Regions from separate parts of the Homo sapiens genome. Here region 1 is linked to region 2. Evidence: promoter capture Hi-C in human tissues and cell types (Jung and others, 2019). All regions are on one chromosome and are shown on one strand. Each heading gives the region's core, a stretch centred on a gene start or on the middle of the fragment in contact. The rest is flanking DNA. Distances are from core to core; before and after follow the strand shown. Region 1 overlaps MACF1 (microtubule actin crosslinking factor 1). Region 2 holds the start of BMP8A (bone morphogenetic protein 8a).

What was found. The method cuts DNA at HindIII sites, captures the fragments that hold promoters and counts their contacts. A contact is called where the count stands out against the background at its distance.
Region 1: a fragment that was not itself captured here is called in contact with the fragment with the promoter of BMP8A in region 2 in 2 of the 25 tissues and cell types used here (hippocampus and liver).

The regions. Positions count from the first base shown.
Region 1 is chr1:39,424,575-39,431,529 of GRCh38, forward strand. MACF1 (microtubule actin crosslinking factor 1) reads left to right here. Exons shown (of 101, transcript NM_001394062.1): 62 at 2,881-3,040; 63 at 3,387-3,713; 64 at 4,668-4,752; 65 at 5,253-5,494; 66 at 6,128-6,334. Among named protein-coding and RNA genes, the nearest start is that of BMP8A, 64 kb to the right of the region's middle. The HindIII fragment of the contact is 4,311 bases long and covers 2,547-6,857 here.
Region 2 is chr1:39,488,194-39,494,864 of GRCh38, forward strand. It overlaps BMP8A (bone morphogenetic protein 8a), which reads left to right and starts at 3,443. Exons shown (of 7, transcript NM_181809.4): 1 at 3,443-4,132. The coding sequence starts at 3,799. It overlaps LOC124904101 (a long non-coding RNA gene), which reads right to left and starts at 3,355. Exons shown (of 2, transcript XR_007065978.1): 1 at 2,496-3,355; 2 at 1-1,934. RefSeq lists silencers at 2,942-3,571, 3,672-3,771. The HindIII fragment of the contact is 32,682 bases long and covers 1-6,671 here.

The DNA of each region.
Region 1 (6,955 bases), core at 3,452-5,951, 62 kb before region 2:
CATATTTCTTTTCTATTAGCTTATAGTAATATTAGATTTTTTTGCCTTTAGGAGCTAGTCTGTGGTTCTGTTAAATATCTGGGAATTCAAGAGATGCATGAACTTACCTCAATAAATGGTCAAAAAGACAGGCAACAAATCCTCCTTCAAGGAAATATTCCCTTTCTCTTTTCATAGCTATAAGTTATCCTGTGACTTGAGCTTAATAAGTCACATAGATGTCTTTACTTTTATACAGTCCTCAGTTTTAAAATTAAATACCAGCTAATGAGAAATCAATAAGAGAGCTGATCATTTGTTATTGTATCCTTTACATTTCCTAGGTAGCCTATGGCAGTCTTCAAATAATTCCCTCTTCAGTCTTTTTATGTCCACCTGCCCATGACTTGGCTTATTCCTTACCTGAGTTGCAAAGTATGGCTTGCCTATGTTAGTGGAAGAAACAAAATGGAAAGAATTTAACTTACTTGTATTTCCAGATTTGTACTGCTTATTTTCTTTTCTCTCTGTCCATTTCCAGTAATGGTACCATTAGCTTTCCAGTTTCCTAGGCTTAAAACCTCGACTCCATTTTTACTTTTCTTTTTTTAATTTCTCCTTTGTGCCCACATCGATCAGCATGCTAAATTCTGTCTATTTTACTTTACAGTGTCTTTCCTGTCCATCTGTTTCTCTAATTCCCACTCTCCCCTCAGTTCATGACTTACGAGCTCTCACTAGGTGTATAGAGATAGCTTCTTCACTAATCACTCTACCACTAACCCTGGGGCCTTCCCCTTCCCATCCCCCAGCTGCAGATGAACCTTTCTGAAATAAGCCTTTAATCATATCTTTTCAAGCTCAGAGATATTTAATTGACTCCCTGTTAGAATAAAACCTTTAGATTATGAGGCTGACACACTGCCTGCCGTGCTAAGAAGGTGCTTAAAATAAAATATAAACTCTTTAACACACCATTCAAAGCCCTCTATTTGACCCTAACCTACCTTTCTTAGCTTCTACTATTCTTCTCACTCCTTAATATTATAGCTGAAGTAAACTATATTCTGTTCTTTAATATCTTCTGACAATGTCCTAACCCTGTGTCTTATTTTATGGGTTATAATACATCTTTCATGAAATGCTTTTGTCCAGCTCTCTCTCTTCTATAAAACTTACCTTTATTCCTCAATCATGGAATAATTTTTCCTGCCTCTTCACTGCCATAACTCTTTATCTGTACCTTGTATTATGATCATTATTTTATGTACTTACCTTCCTGGTCCATAAACTCCTTAAAGTCATGGTTTGTTTATCTAATGCATATTTTTATGACTCTTTCCTTCTACTTTACTTGTTTCCATCCTCCTAGCCTAATATAGTTTCTGGGCCAATATTTTAAATAGAAACAAATAACAAGAGTAGATATTTGATGCTTCTAAATTATTTTTAGCTCTTCTCCCTAAAAATACCTTTAATCTTATTACAATAAATTCTTCAAATTTTCAGATTCCAAAATCAAATGAGTAAGAAAGACATAAAAATTAGAGGCAATTTTTAAAAAATGAAATTCAAATTTAATAATAATTTTTAATATTGTATGTTTTAGTTGCATTACTTGAAGATATATTTTGAAGGCTGGCATAAACAAACTAGGAAAGAAAGTTTTAGACTTAGATTGCCACTTAAAAAATATGTTTTTCTTTATATTCAAACATAATTGAATTTCCAGTAATCAAAATGCCAACTTTTTTTATTTAAACCACTTCTTATTAAAATAACTTTGTCAGGGCATAACTAGCATAGGACCTGGCGTAAATTAGGTCTTCAGTAAAGGTTTGCTGAACTTAAGTGCATCATATACTCCCAGGCCTCTTCAAATGCCATATCTTAGTCTGTTTTTAGTAATTCAAAGACAACATTATGACCTTTCATTATTAATCTGCATGCTAATACAGTTCTGTGGTTGTTTTCTTGTCTGTTCCTTGTCAGGCTATCTCCAATATCCAGACTTCCTCCTCACTTTGTAATTTGCTGCTTTTATTTTATAGAGTAAAACAAACCACAGGTACTTTGGAAAGTACATCTCTTAGCACTTCTCTGGTCTCAGTGACAGTCATGTATCCCAGGAAAAGCCAAGCTTAGTTATGGATCTTATATTAAATAAGAGTTAAGATTCCAAGTGAGCTATAAAGTCTGTAGTTTTTTTTGTTTGGTTTTTTTTTGGGGGGGGTGCTTTTTGTGTTGGCAAATTCAGCCAGCGTGAGGTTTTTTGTTTGTTTCTTTTTTGTTTTTTTGCCTTAAATCTGGATTCAAAGTTATGTTCTGGGGCTTGAAATTACCAGAAGCCTGACTGGATTTTGGGGAGTTGGGGAGGGAGTTCTAGTTCATAGGCAATATACAGTCTTTACTCTTCAGATATCTTCACTCATAAATGAAGGTAGTAGTGACAGAGAGAATGAAAACAGACAACTTTTTGCCTCCTTTAAACCTTATTTTGGTCAGATGTTCAGGTGATATATATACTACATTCTGTTTTGATTTGTGTTAAATAAGGAGAACATTAGAAGATTTGATTCTACTGTTGCTACTCACCAGGTGATTGGACAAATCTTTCTTTAAGCCTTCTGACTGAACTTTCTCTTTTATAATAGGGGGATAATTATTCTTTTATAATGGGGGATAATTATTCTGTCCACCTTACAAGGTTATGACAGAATGAGAATAAGGTTAATGGTGTGAAATCCTTTAAAACATCGAAATGCTACATAACGTGTGTTCTGTTTACTATTGGTATTTAAACTATACCTGGAAAAGACTATTCTTTTACTGAGTATAGTACTATTACCAGTTTTAATGTGACTTTTCTTCCTGAGCAGCTTGTTCTATATATTTGTGTAGGCAAAAACAGCTGGAAGACATCCTGGTTCTGGCCAAACAGTTCCATGAGACAGCTGAGCCTATTTCTGACTTCTTATCTGTCACAGAGAAAAAGCTTGCTAACTCAGAACCTGTTGGCACTCAGACTGCCAAAATACAGCAGCAGATCATTCGGCACAAGGTAGGGAGTGGTTACAGTAAATGAAAATAGAAAACTGGAATTAGAAATCCTAGAAATGAGTAAACTGCCTGCAGCATTCTAGAGGATGTGTGTTTTGTGGGTTTAACTTAAAATATGGTCAGATTATTAATTGGAAAAGTCACATTCTTGAAATACAAATAGAAATTGACTGATAGGCTACCACCGGAATAAACAGCTTTTGTTCCCAATTTTTATATTATTTTTGCCTTTCAGTCGGTGAGTTTTTTAATTGTTTAATTTGTTGTATCATTTGTTATTCATCATTTTGTGTTTACTTTTCATTTATTTTGTTTCTGTTATTCATTTTTTCCATCTGGATTTCCAGGCTCTGGAAGAAGACATAGAAAACCATGCAACAGATGTGCACCAGGCAGTCAAAATTGGGCAGTCCCTCTCCTCCCTGACATCTCCTGCAGAACAGGGTGTGCTGTCAGAAAAGATAGACTCATTGCAGGCCCGATACAGTGAAATTCAAGACCGCTGTTGTCGGAAGGCAGCCCTACTTGACCAAGCTCTGTCTAATGCTAGGCTGTTTGGGGAGGATGAGGTGGAGGTGCTCAACTGGCTGGCTGAGGTTGAGGACAAGCTCAGTTCAGTGTTCGTAAAGGATTTCAAACAGGATGTCCTGCACAGGCAGCATGCTGACCACCTGGTATTCATGTTTCCATTTTTATTGGTTATGTTATTCTGTTATTTTGTTATTTTGATTCATGTTTCTCTTCATTTATTTTTTTTTCTTCATTACAAACACTTCAACTTTATTTTATACACAAGTGCATAGTTAGTGGACTTGATGCTGACTGCTAATCTGTTTTTGGATGAGTCCATGGAAATACTTATATTTAACAAGTTAAATCAGTAATTCTAGAAGATGGTACAGGGTATATAGTCAGGGGCCATCTGAACTCCAACTCATGATTTACATTATTAGGTGATGGGTCACTAAGATTCTATTTGAGCAGTTTTATGAAAGATAATGTGCTTTAACAAAACCAGATCTATCTGTGTAGTGCCCAGGATTTGATCATACAGTTAAAAAACTTTTAGGATATTTCTGGATTTGTTCAAATTCCGGGGATTCTGTGTCATCTTAATAGAAGAGTTTGCCTTTTTCATTTCATTTTTATGAAATCTGTTTGGGAGAGTAAAAATAGGTAATTTTTCTAATAGTCTGATTCTTTTGCTTCGTCAACTTTAAATATGAAGAGAGTTTTTAACCAGGATTCTGATTTAAGTCAGTCTGTTCTTACTGAATTTCTTCTCTTGAACTTTCTGTTTATTCCTTATTTTGGACACAGTAGACAATTTTGCTCAATTTCACTTCTGCCTTTCTTGGGTTCAGGTTTGGTACCAATAATTGGTAAAGCTGATGTAATTCTAAGTTTTTCTCATCCAGCGCATAGGAAAGCTTGCCTATAGGTATCTGATTTAATTATTTTGAATAGTCAATGGGCTAACCAAGGAGAAGATGAGGGGATCAAATATCTGATGTTTAAATTAAACTAGTATTCATCTCTTTACTTTAAATTTGATCTCTTAAAGGTCTCGCATTTTGTTTCATTTGTAGTGCCACAGTTTCAGGATTAATGGTATTCTTTCCTTTCAGGCTTTAAATGAAGAAATTGTTAATAGAAAGAAGAATGTAGATCAAGCTATTAAAAATGGTCAGGCTCTTCTAAAACAAACCACAGGTACTTTGAAAAGTGTGTCTCTTAGCACCCCTATGGTCTCAAAGACAATTATGTACCCAAGGAAAGGAGTTCCCTGCCTTAGCCTCTTCTTTATGTATATATGAGAAGCTTAGTATTCACTGATTGTATTCCCTACTGTGCTCCAGAAGGTTGTTTCCTGCTAAATCTTTTGAAAACTAAGTTATCTCACATCTGGTTATAGATGATGATTTCTCCTCTCCTTCAGTATCTTGAATGCCAACATGCACTGAAAGGTGCTGGAAACATCTAGAAACACTTGACGCTGAACTCAGATTTTAATAATTCAGAAGTGGCTTCTTTTATCCAGTGGAAAGTTTATTTTATTTCCCATTTGCCCTTAGTATGGGATAGGTGAAATCATTACCACAGAGAGAGAGAGAGCGTCTATGAAATTAAAGCTCTGATTTGAAGAAAGGGGATCAGAGACTCCTCATTCCTAGGTCTCTTAAATATGAGTAATTGTGTGCTATCTTCCATAGGTGAGGAGGTGTTACTTATCCAGGAAAAACTAGATGGTATAAAGACTCGTTACGCAGACATCACAGTTACTAGCTCCAAGGCCCTCAGAACTTTAGAGCAAGCCCGGCAGCTGGCCACCAAGTTCCAGTCTACTTATGAGGAACTGACCGGGTGGCTGAGGGAGGTGGAGGAGGAGCTGGCAACCAGTGGAGGACAGTCTCCCACAGGGGAACAGATACCCCAGTTTCAGCAGAGACAGAAGGTGAGCTGTTACTTTACCATAAAAAGAAAAAAAGGCTTCCTCTTTGTCAGAATCCTTAAGTTTTATCAACCTTTACCTTAAATATAAACTAAAAATATGTGCCCCCTTTCTTGTTTACTCATGGACAGTAAGATTTGACATAAAGACATATACGTTACACATATGTTATGAAGAAGAAAGAAGTTGAATCAAGTTTACTTTGTAACATTTTAACCTCTATTATTTATTCTCTAAAGAGTGCTTCATGGTTTTATTTGATTTCTCTGCAGGATCTAGTATAGTTCTAGATGCATAGAAATATTGTATAGGTACTTGTTAGGTTAAATACTGAGCCTTTGGTTAAAGCATTATTTATCATTTCTGTTGAAGTAAGGAGATGAAAGAAGTATTAGTTGTTTTACCCAGAGACAATGTGGCTCAAAAAGTCTTACAGGCAGTTCTAAGCAAGCAACAATGAAGTCTAAAGTCAGGCTTCAGAATGATTGAAAAATCTGAGATGAGAAAAAAATAACTGAAGGAAGGAGGTCAGAGTCCTGCTGGGATGTGTGGTAGAGATAGCAATTTCCACCCAGCACAGTTGCTGATGTGCTTTATTTAGCAAGGTATGGCCTGAAAACTCTTTTCCCTCCTTAGGAATTAAAGAAGGAGGTCATGGAGCACAGGCTGGTGTTGGACACAGTGAATGAGGTGAGCCGTGCTCTCTTAGAGCTGGTGCCCTGGAGAGCCAGAGAAGGGCTGGATAAACTTGTGTCCGATGCTAACGAGCAGTACAAACTAGTCAGTGACACTATTGGACAAAGGGTGGATGAAATTGATGCTGCTATTCAGAGATCACAACAGGTAATGCTTATAATACCTCTGCATTAATATTTTAGACAGTATTGATGTGTGAGATACAGTACTATGACCCACATAAATACAGACTCAGAAATAAGAATGGGCTCAAGCTAAATCTGGTGGAATAAATATGTTTCATTGATGGGAAATGATTGGGTAGAAGTTTGTGAGGATGGATCCAGAATTTGACCAAAATACTTGACCCCTTTGAGTAGAGAAGTACTTGGAGAAGAGTCTACATGAGGCCTTTTCTTAGCTAATGCCCTGCTAAGAAGGCTGATGGTGATGGGAGTAGATAATATCTAGATTCAAAAGGTCCAAATGCACCACAATCTTAGTTTGACATAATTAACTCTCTTAGCATTAGATGGAAGAGGGGGAAGGAATTACTATCAAATATGCAAACCAAAATAGCAGAGCTATCTAAAATAGAACCTTCTCAGTAAACACAGGTGTCATATTTCCCTTGATCTTTTTTCCTTCCTACTTTCTGGAAAAAAATCATTTGTTCTTTTGTGTAGCTGGATACACACCTCTTAATGTGCCGTAGTACAAAAAATAAGTTAATATAACTCCTTAGGATCATAGTGATGAACATATGCTTTTTGAATCACACAGAAATTT
Region 2 (6,671 bases), core at 2,193-4,692:
GTTATGGTCCAGAATCTTACCAAGTAATTAAGGTTTTCTGGGGTTTTGTGGCAAAGTTCAGCTGGCAGCGGCACCAACGAAAAGTGCATTTCTTTTTTTTTCTTTTTTTTTTTTTCTTTTTTTTTTTTTTTTTTGAGATAGGGACTCATTCTGTTGCCCACTGGAGTGCAGTGGCGCAATCTGGGCTGACCGCAACCTCCGCCTCCCAAGCTCAAACTATTCTCCTGCCTCAGCCTCCTGAGTAGCTGGAGTTACAGGCACATGCTACCATGCCTGGCTAAAAAAAAGTGCATTTCCATTCAACAAATGCCTGTACACAAGACCATGTAGGAAATAACAAGATGCTAGGAAAAGGGTTAAAGTATAATCACAGTCCTGGGCCGGGTGTGGTGGCTTATTCCTGTAATCCCAGCACTTTGGGAGGCTGAGGCGGGTGGATCACCTGAGGTCAGGAGTTCAAGACCAGCTTGGTCAATGTGGTGAAACCCCGTCTCTACTAAAAATACAAAAATTAGCCAGGTGTGGTGGTGGGCACCTGTAATCCCAGCTACTCGGGAGGCTGAGGCAGGAGAATTGCTTAAACCTGGGAGACGGAGGTTGCAGTGAGCCAAGATTGCGCCATTGAACTCCAGCCTGCAAGAAAAGAGAAACTCCATCTCAAAAAATAAATAATAAGTAAATAAATATATATATATATAATCACAGTCCTGTGATAGAAATGCTAAATGAGGAAGGAAAATTTGGTGTCTGCTGGGGCCTTGAATGATGCAATAACTAGCTCATATTTATTGACTGCTTACTGTAAGCCAGTGATTGTGCTAAGTGCTCTATATACATTCTCACTGAATACGCTTAACAGTTCTATGATCATTAGCCCCCTTTTCTTGATAAGACACTGAGCCTGAGAGAGGTTAAGATCACAGAGTTGCCAGGTGGCTAGGGAAAACCCTTGTTTTGACACTACTTTCTCCAAGAAACCTACCCCACCTCAGTTCCCTTCCAGTCCTAATGTTCTGGATTCCACTCATGTGGTCTGCTCCCACTTCCCCGCTCCTCTGCCCTTACAGCCACTTTGCTGGCTCCTCTGGGAGCACAGCTTTCATTTTGCTTTGGGAAATTGCCGTGTTCACCAGCTGTCACCCCTGTTGCTGTGGGGGCTGCTCAGGGGCAGGGGGCTTGTCTGCTCCATCTCTGGTTCAGGGCACAGCACAGAGCAGCTCACGGTGGTTGTTGCTGAACTGAAGCGTGGGCAGAGGCCCTTGGAATGGCTAAAATCTGCTGTTTAGGTTTATGGGAATGTGAAGCCCGTTGTTTAGAAAACACAGCTCTATCTCCACATCCTAAATTGAGAAATGATTTCTGTTATAAGAATCAGCCCAGCACTGGGCAGCTTGCAGTCTAGCTGGGAGCCCAGAATTGCACAAAACAAACCTGAGAATTGTACAGGCTGGATCTAGGGCCTCAAGTGATGTGCAGTGGATTCAAAAGGGGCGTGCAGAGAGGACAGTGAAGGGGGTGTGGGCAGGAGATTCCGAGACTCTGACCAAGATGACATGGGGACAAAGCCCTGTGGATTCAGCCTCCTAAACAGCTTTCTCCTCTGCCCCTCCACCCCATCACCATTAGAGACTCATGGTCATTGTACCCACCCCCACATCTGATTGCTGTACCTGCCTCCAACTGCAGGGCCCTGACTCCTGTCTCCCTCTGATCCATATTCCGCTCTGCTTCCAAGCTCTGGTCTTGGGTACTTTCAACGGTTATTCTGCATTATCCTTAGCTCAGTATCCTTATGGGACAGTCCCAGTCCGCAGGGTAGCCCCGGCTTCTAGGCGGTGGCATCCACATCTGCTCTGCCCGGAGCTGATGCAGGTGCCTCATGGGGGGCGCTCTGGGGACCGCGCAGAAAATTTACGAGCAGTGTGGAAATATACCTGTTGGGTAAAAGACAAACTAGGCGTGTGTTTAAGGCACCAGCAAATGACTATTTAGATTAAGAATTTGTTGTAGAAAATTTTATTGAAGTGATGACTTCCAAATGTGATTTTTGGGGGCATTATACACTTGCTTCGAGGTTTAATCTTCAATCCACATGGCGGGGCACCATAATCTCTGGTGCCCAGGGCCCTCGTCTAGCCCCTGTGAGGCCCTTTGCGGTGCCTCCCTTGCCAGCCCCTCCAGCCTCCGCCGTTTGCCCCCTGGGCTCTCCAGTTTCCACTGCCCCCCTGCCCGAGCGCAGCTCCACTGCTGTGTGACCTGGCGTAAGTCCCTTAACCGCCGTGTGCCTCAGTTTCCTCATTTATTAAAAGAGGAGGTTCCAGTGGTATGTACCCCCTAACGATGTGCGAGCATCACAGAAATGACACGAGACACACACTCAGAACATGCCTTGGCGTGGCAAGTGCTGACTGTTGCCATTATTAGGCTCCCCAGCCGGGGTCTCAGGGCCTTGGCACAAGCTATTCCCTCTGCCTGGAGCACTTTCCTCCACTGACCTTTCCTGGCGCTCCAGGTCAACTCCAGGAGCCTTCCCAGTGCAGTCTAGGTGCCTTCTCCTTCCGCAGCGCCTGAACCACACAGGAATAAGTAAGGCGAGAGCGCGCCCAGGGAAGAGCAGGTGTGCAGAAAGGGACTGAGTCAGTCGAGACGTTTCCGCGGGGATCCTTCTCTTGGCAGGCCTGCACCGGGGCCGTGGGGACTGAGAAGATGTGCACAGGTGGCTCCCGAGTGCTCGGGAAGGGCCCCAGAGCTTCTGGCCCAGCTGGAGGCAGGAGGCGGAGCCTCCTCCGCAAAGCTGGATCAGTACCGGGGACGCAGGGCGCACAGCTAGGGCTGGCGGGGGCGGCCCGACTGGGGCGCTGCCTGGGCTCACGCGGGAGCCAGGTGGGGGACGCAGGGAGAAGCAGCCGAGCAGGTGCCGAGAAGGAGGCGCCCGCAGAAGCGCATGCAGGGGCCACGGGGAAGGCGCCAGGAGGCGGTGAGGGGCCGCGGTGGCCGGAACCCGGGCCGGCTGCTGCGGGCAGAGGAACAGGCCCCACCCGCGGGGCTTGGCTGGCACCGCCCGGCTCTCCAGACGGGGCTACGGCCGCGTGTCGGGCCCGGTGGCGACCACGGCACACCACGGCGAGGCAGCCGGGTGGCACCACTGGCGGGACCGGGACGGCGCCGCGGCCTTAGGATCTCTGCGCCGAGGCCCGCGGCGGGAGCCACGACGGCCCTGACCACGCTGACGCCCAGGCTGCGGGCTCCTCGCCCGGACCAACCGCCAGCCACGCCGAGGTCGCACCTCGGGGTCGCCCCACCCGCAACACCTGCCGCCGCCCGGGGCTCCTAGCGGGCGCGGCCTCCGCGCCCAGGCCCCGCCCCCGCGCCCCCATTGGTCAGTCCCGGGGGTGGGCGGGCGGCACAGACGGCTGAGCCGGGGCAAGGACTCGCGGGAATCGCGCCGCCCGGGTCGCTGCCGGAGCTCGCCGGTCGCCCCTGCGCTGCGCGGACCGCAGCCACAGCCGGACTGGTGGGAACGGCGGCGACAGACGGATTGGCTGACAGTCCCAGCCCTCAGAACAGCCCCGGCCTCGAAGCGTTGGCGTCTGCGTCCGCGTCAGCGTCCGCTTGTCCCGGAGCCGGGGCAGGTGCGCGCGGGGGGCGCTCCAGGGACCGCGCTGAGGCCGCAGACGCCGCCCGCCGAGCCCCGCCCCCTGCTCGCCGAACTCAGCTCCCCGTTCGCCGTCGGGGCGTCCCCGGGCCCAGGGGCGGCGGCGGAGCTGATGTGCGCCCGCTGAGCGCCCCCGGCCCGCCATGGCCGCGCGCCCCGGACCGCTCTGGCTTCTGGGCCTGACGTTGTGCGCGCTGGGCGGGGGCGGCCCCGGCCTGCGACCCCCGCCCGGCTGTCCCCAGCGACGTCTGGGCGCGCGCGAGCGCCGGGACGTGCAGCGCGAGATCCTGGCGGTGCTCGGGCTACCCGGGCGGCCCCGGCCCCGCGCGCCACCCGCCGCCTCCCGGCTGCCCGCGTCCGCGCCGCTCTTCATGCTGGACCTGTACCACGCCATGGCTGGCGACGACGACGAGGACGGCGCGCCCGCGGAGCAGCGCCTGGGCCGCGCCGACCTGGTCATGAGCTTCGTCAACATGGGTGAGTGCGGCCGCCCGCGCGGGGACCCTCGGAGTAAGCTGGCTGCAGGGGAGGGGCGCGCATCCGCGGGCGGTGCCGGGCCCTGGCCGAACGGGGAATCACAGACGGTGGACGCGAACCACAGGGGAGTGGGACCGCCGTGGTTAGGGAAGGTCTAAGGGTCATGGGGGCCCCCTGGGCTGCGGGGTGGTCAGGAGCAGAGTGTGGGGGACTGTGGACTCCCAGGCGCTGCCTTCACCCTGCCCCAGACACACCCAGGAGTAAGAATTAGGTGATGTCTTTGCCCACCTGGGCTGCCCCGGGAAGACAGCCTGGTCCTGGGGAGACAGGTGAGTAAACAGAGGCCGGGATGCTGTCACTGTGATAAGGACAGTACTGAGGAGAGGGACAAAGTTCAGCGTGGAAACCTGTGGTCACATCATCGGAGTGACCAGAGCTGAGTCGCGTGCCCTGAGTCCACAGCAGGCTCTTCCCTGTGCGGAGCCTGGGTGGGGTGCGGCTGTCAGGGGAGCGGCTGGGGAAGGAGCAGACTCAGCTCGCTGGGGCAGGGACTGTGGCCTTGTCACCCTGGGCCCTGCACTTAGCATGTGGCCTGGTATAGGGTGAGTGTCCGGTCCTGTGGAATGGCCCAGTGGGCAGCTGGACCCACTGTGTTCTCCCAGGCAAAGCCGGGCTTTTCCTGTCTGCAAACATCTTGTATCAAACCCTGGAGCTATTTATTCCTTAAGATCTCAGATTTTTCTTTTCCAGTACTAAACTCTTTGGTCTATGCTCGTGTAGTTACTGTTGGTCAGGTCCCCCGTCTGCTTTGCCTCCTGTCTGTGGCTAGTGACAGGCCGGGGTCTGGGAGCCAAGGACCACAGCTCAGCCCGAAGTGGGGGAGCTGTGGGGCTGAGAGCAGGGAGTGGGTACCTGCCCCAGCCACCAGCCTCCCTCCACAGACAGCATCATTAATTCTTCATCCTCCCGACAACCCTGATAACAGCCACGGTCTTCATCCCCATCTCCCAGATGAGGACAGTGAGGTTCAGAGAGGCAGCGCCATGCCTAGGACAGCGCAGCCTCTATGTTGCTGAGCCAGGACAGGCCCAGGAAGCCTGACTGTCCATCCAGGGCTCAATGAGATGACATTTCTGTTGTCAGGTCAGGCTTTCAGGGTGCAGAGAGCTTTCTGAGGAGTCTGGGCTGAGGAACACAGGGTACTGAGCTGCAGCAGGTCTTGTGGGGCCATCAGCCATTTGCTTCCTACACTAGAGCAGAAGAGGGCATGGCCAAGCCTCTGCTTCCCGCAACCCAGAGCTGGTGGTGGAGGCGAGCAGCAGAAGGCAGCCATTCACCATCGCTGAGCGCCCAGTGCCAGGGACAGGACTCTAGCCGGTGGGATCTGTATGCTGCCTTTGTAGTTAGAGGACAGGGTGGGGATGTGGGACAGAGGAGACCATCTGTGAAGCTGGGGCTGGGGCTCTGTCATCAGGACAGGCTGACACTGGGCTCAGGACCAAGAAGAGTTGTGGATGGAGTCGTCCAAGAATGTCCCCAGGGAGCCGCCCATCAGAATGCGTCACCACCCAGCCCACATCCGACCTCCCCTGGCATCCCCTGGGTCAAGGCATGCACAGCCTGGTGGGGCTGTTGCTGTGAATTGGGCAGGGCCCACCCCTCTGTGTGACCTTAGGGAAGTTCCTCACCTTCTCAGCCTTGGTTGCTCCTTATAAAAGGAGGTGCCTGGTGATCTGTCCTCAGGGTTGTTGTGTGATTGGTAGAGGGGCAGGAGTAGAAAGCCTGTGCTGCTCCCCTCAGAGGGTGAACCTGGACCTGGGCACTGTTGGCCTCCCAGCTGTGGCCCAGCCTTAGTGTGGAGGTGACAGGAACATCTCCACATGTCTTGTACACGTGAAACCCAGAAATGAACTCTAAAAGCCAATCAAAGGTGTTTGTACTTATTTTTAAAATGAAAAGTAGCATGTGAACTTTTTCTTTTCTTTTCTTTTCCTTTCTTTCCTTCTTTCTTTCTTTTTTCTTTTTTCTTTTTTTTTTTTTTAAGAGGCAGGGTTTCACTGCATTCCCCAGGCTGGAGTGTAGTGGTGCGATTATAGCTCACTGCAACCTCTAATTCCCGGGCTCCAGCAATCTTCCTCCCTCAGCCTCCCCAGTAGCTAGGGCTACAGTCGCACACCACCACACCCAGATAATTTTTAAATATTTCTTGTAGAGACGGGGAGTCTCACTGTATTGCCCAGACTGGTCTTGAACTCCTGAACTCAAGCAATCCTCCCACCTCAGCCTCCCAAAGTGCTGGGATTACAGGCGTGAACCACCATGCCTGGCCACGTGTGAACTTTCACAGCCTTACAATTCCTCATTTAATTCATGTGAGACTGTTTTGCCAGCCCCATTTCATGCGCTCAGAGAGATTAAATGGCCAGCCCAGGGCCACACAGCACATCCAAGGTGACATCCATGGCTGTGGATTCCAAATCCCAGCTTCTTCCCACACCAGCTCTGAGCACTTCATGAAGACTCGGGGCCTCCAGCGCCG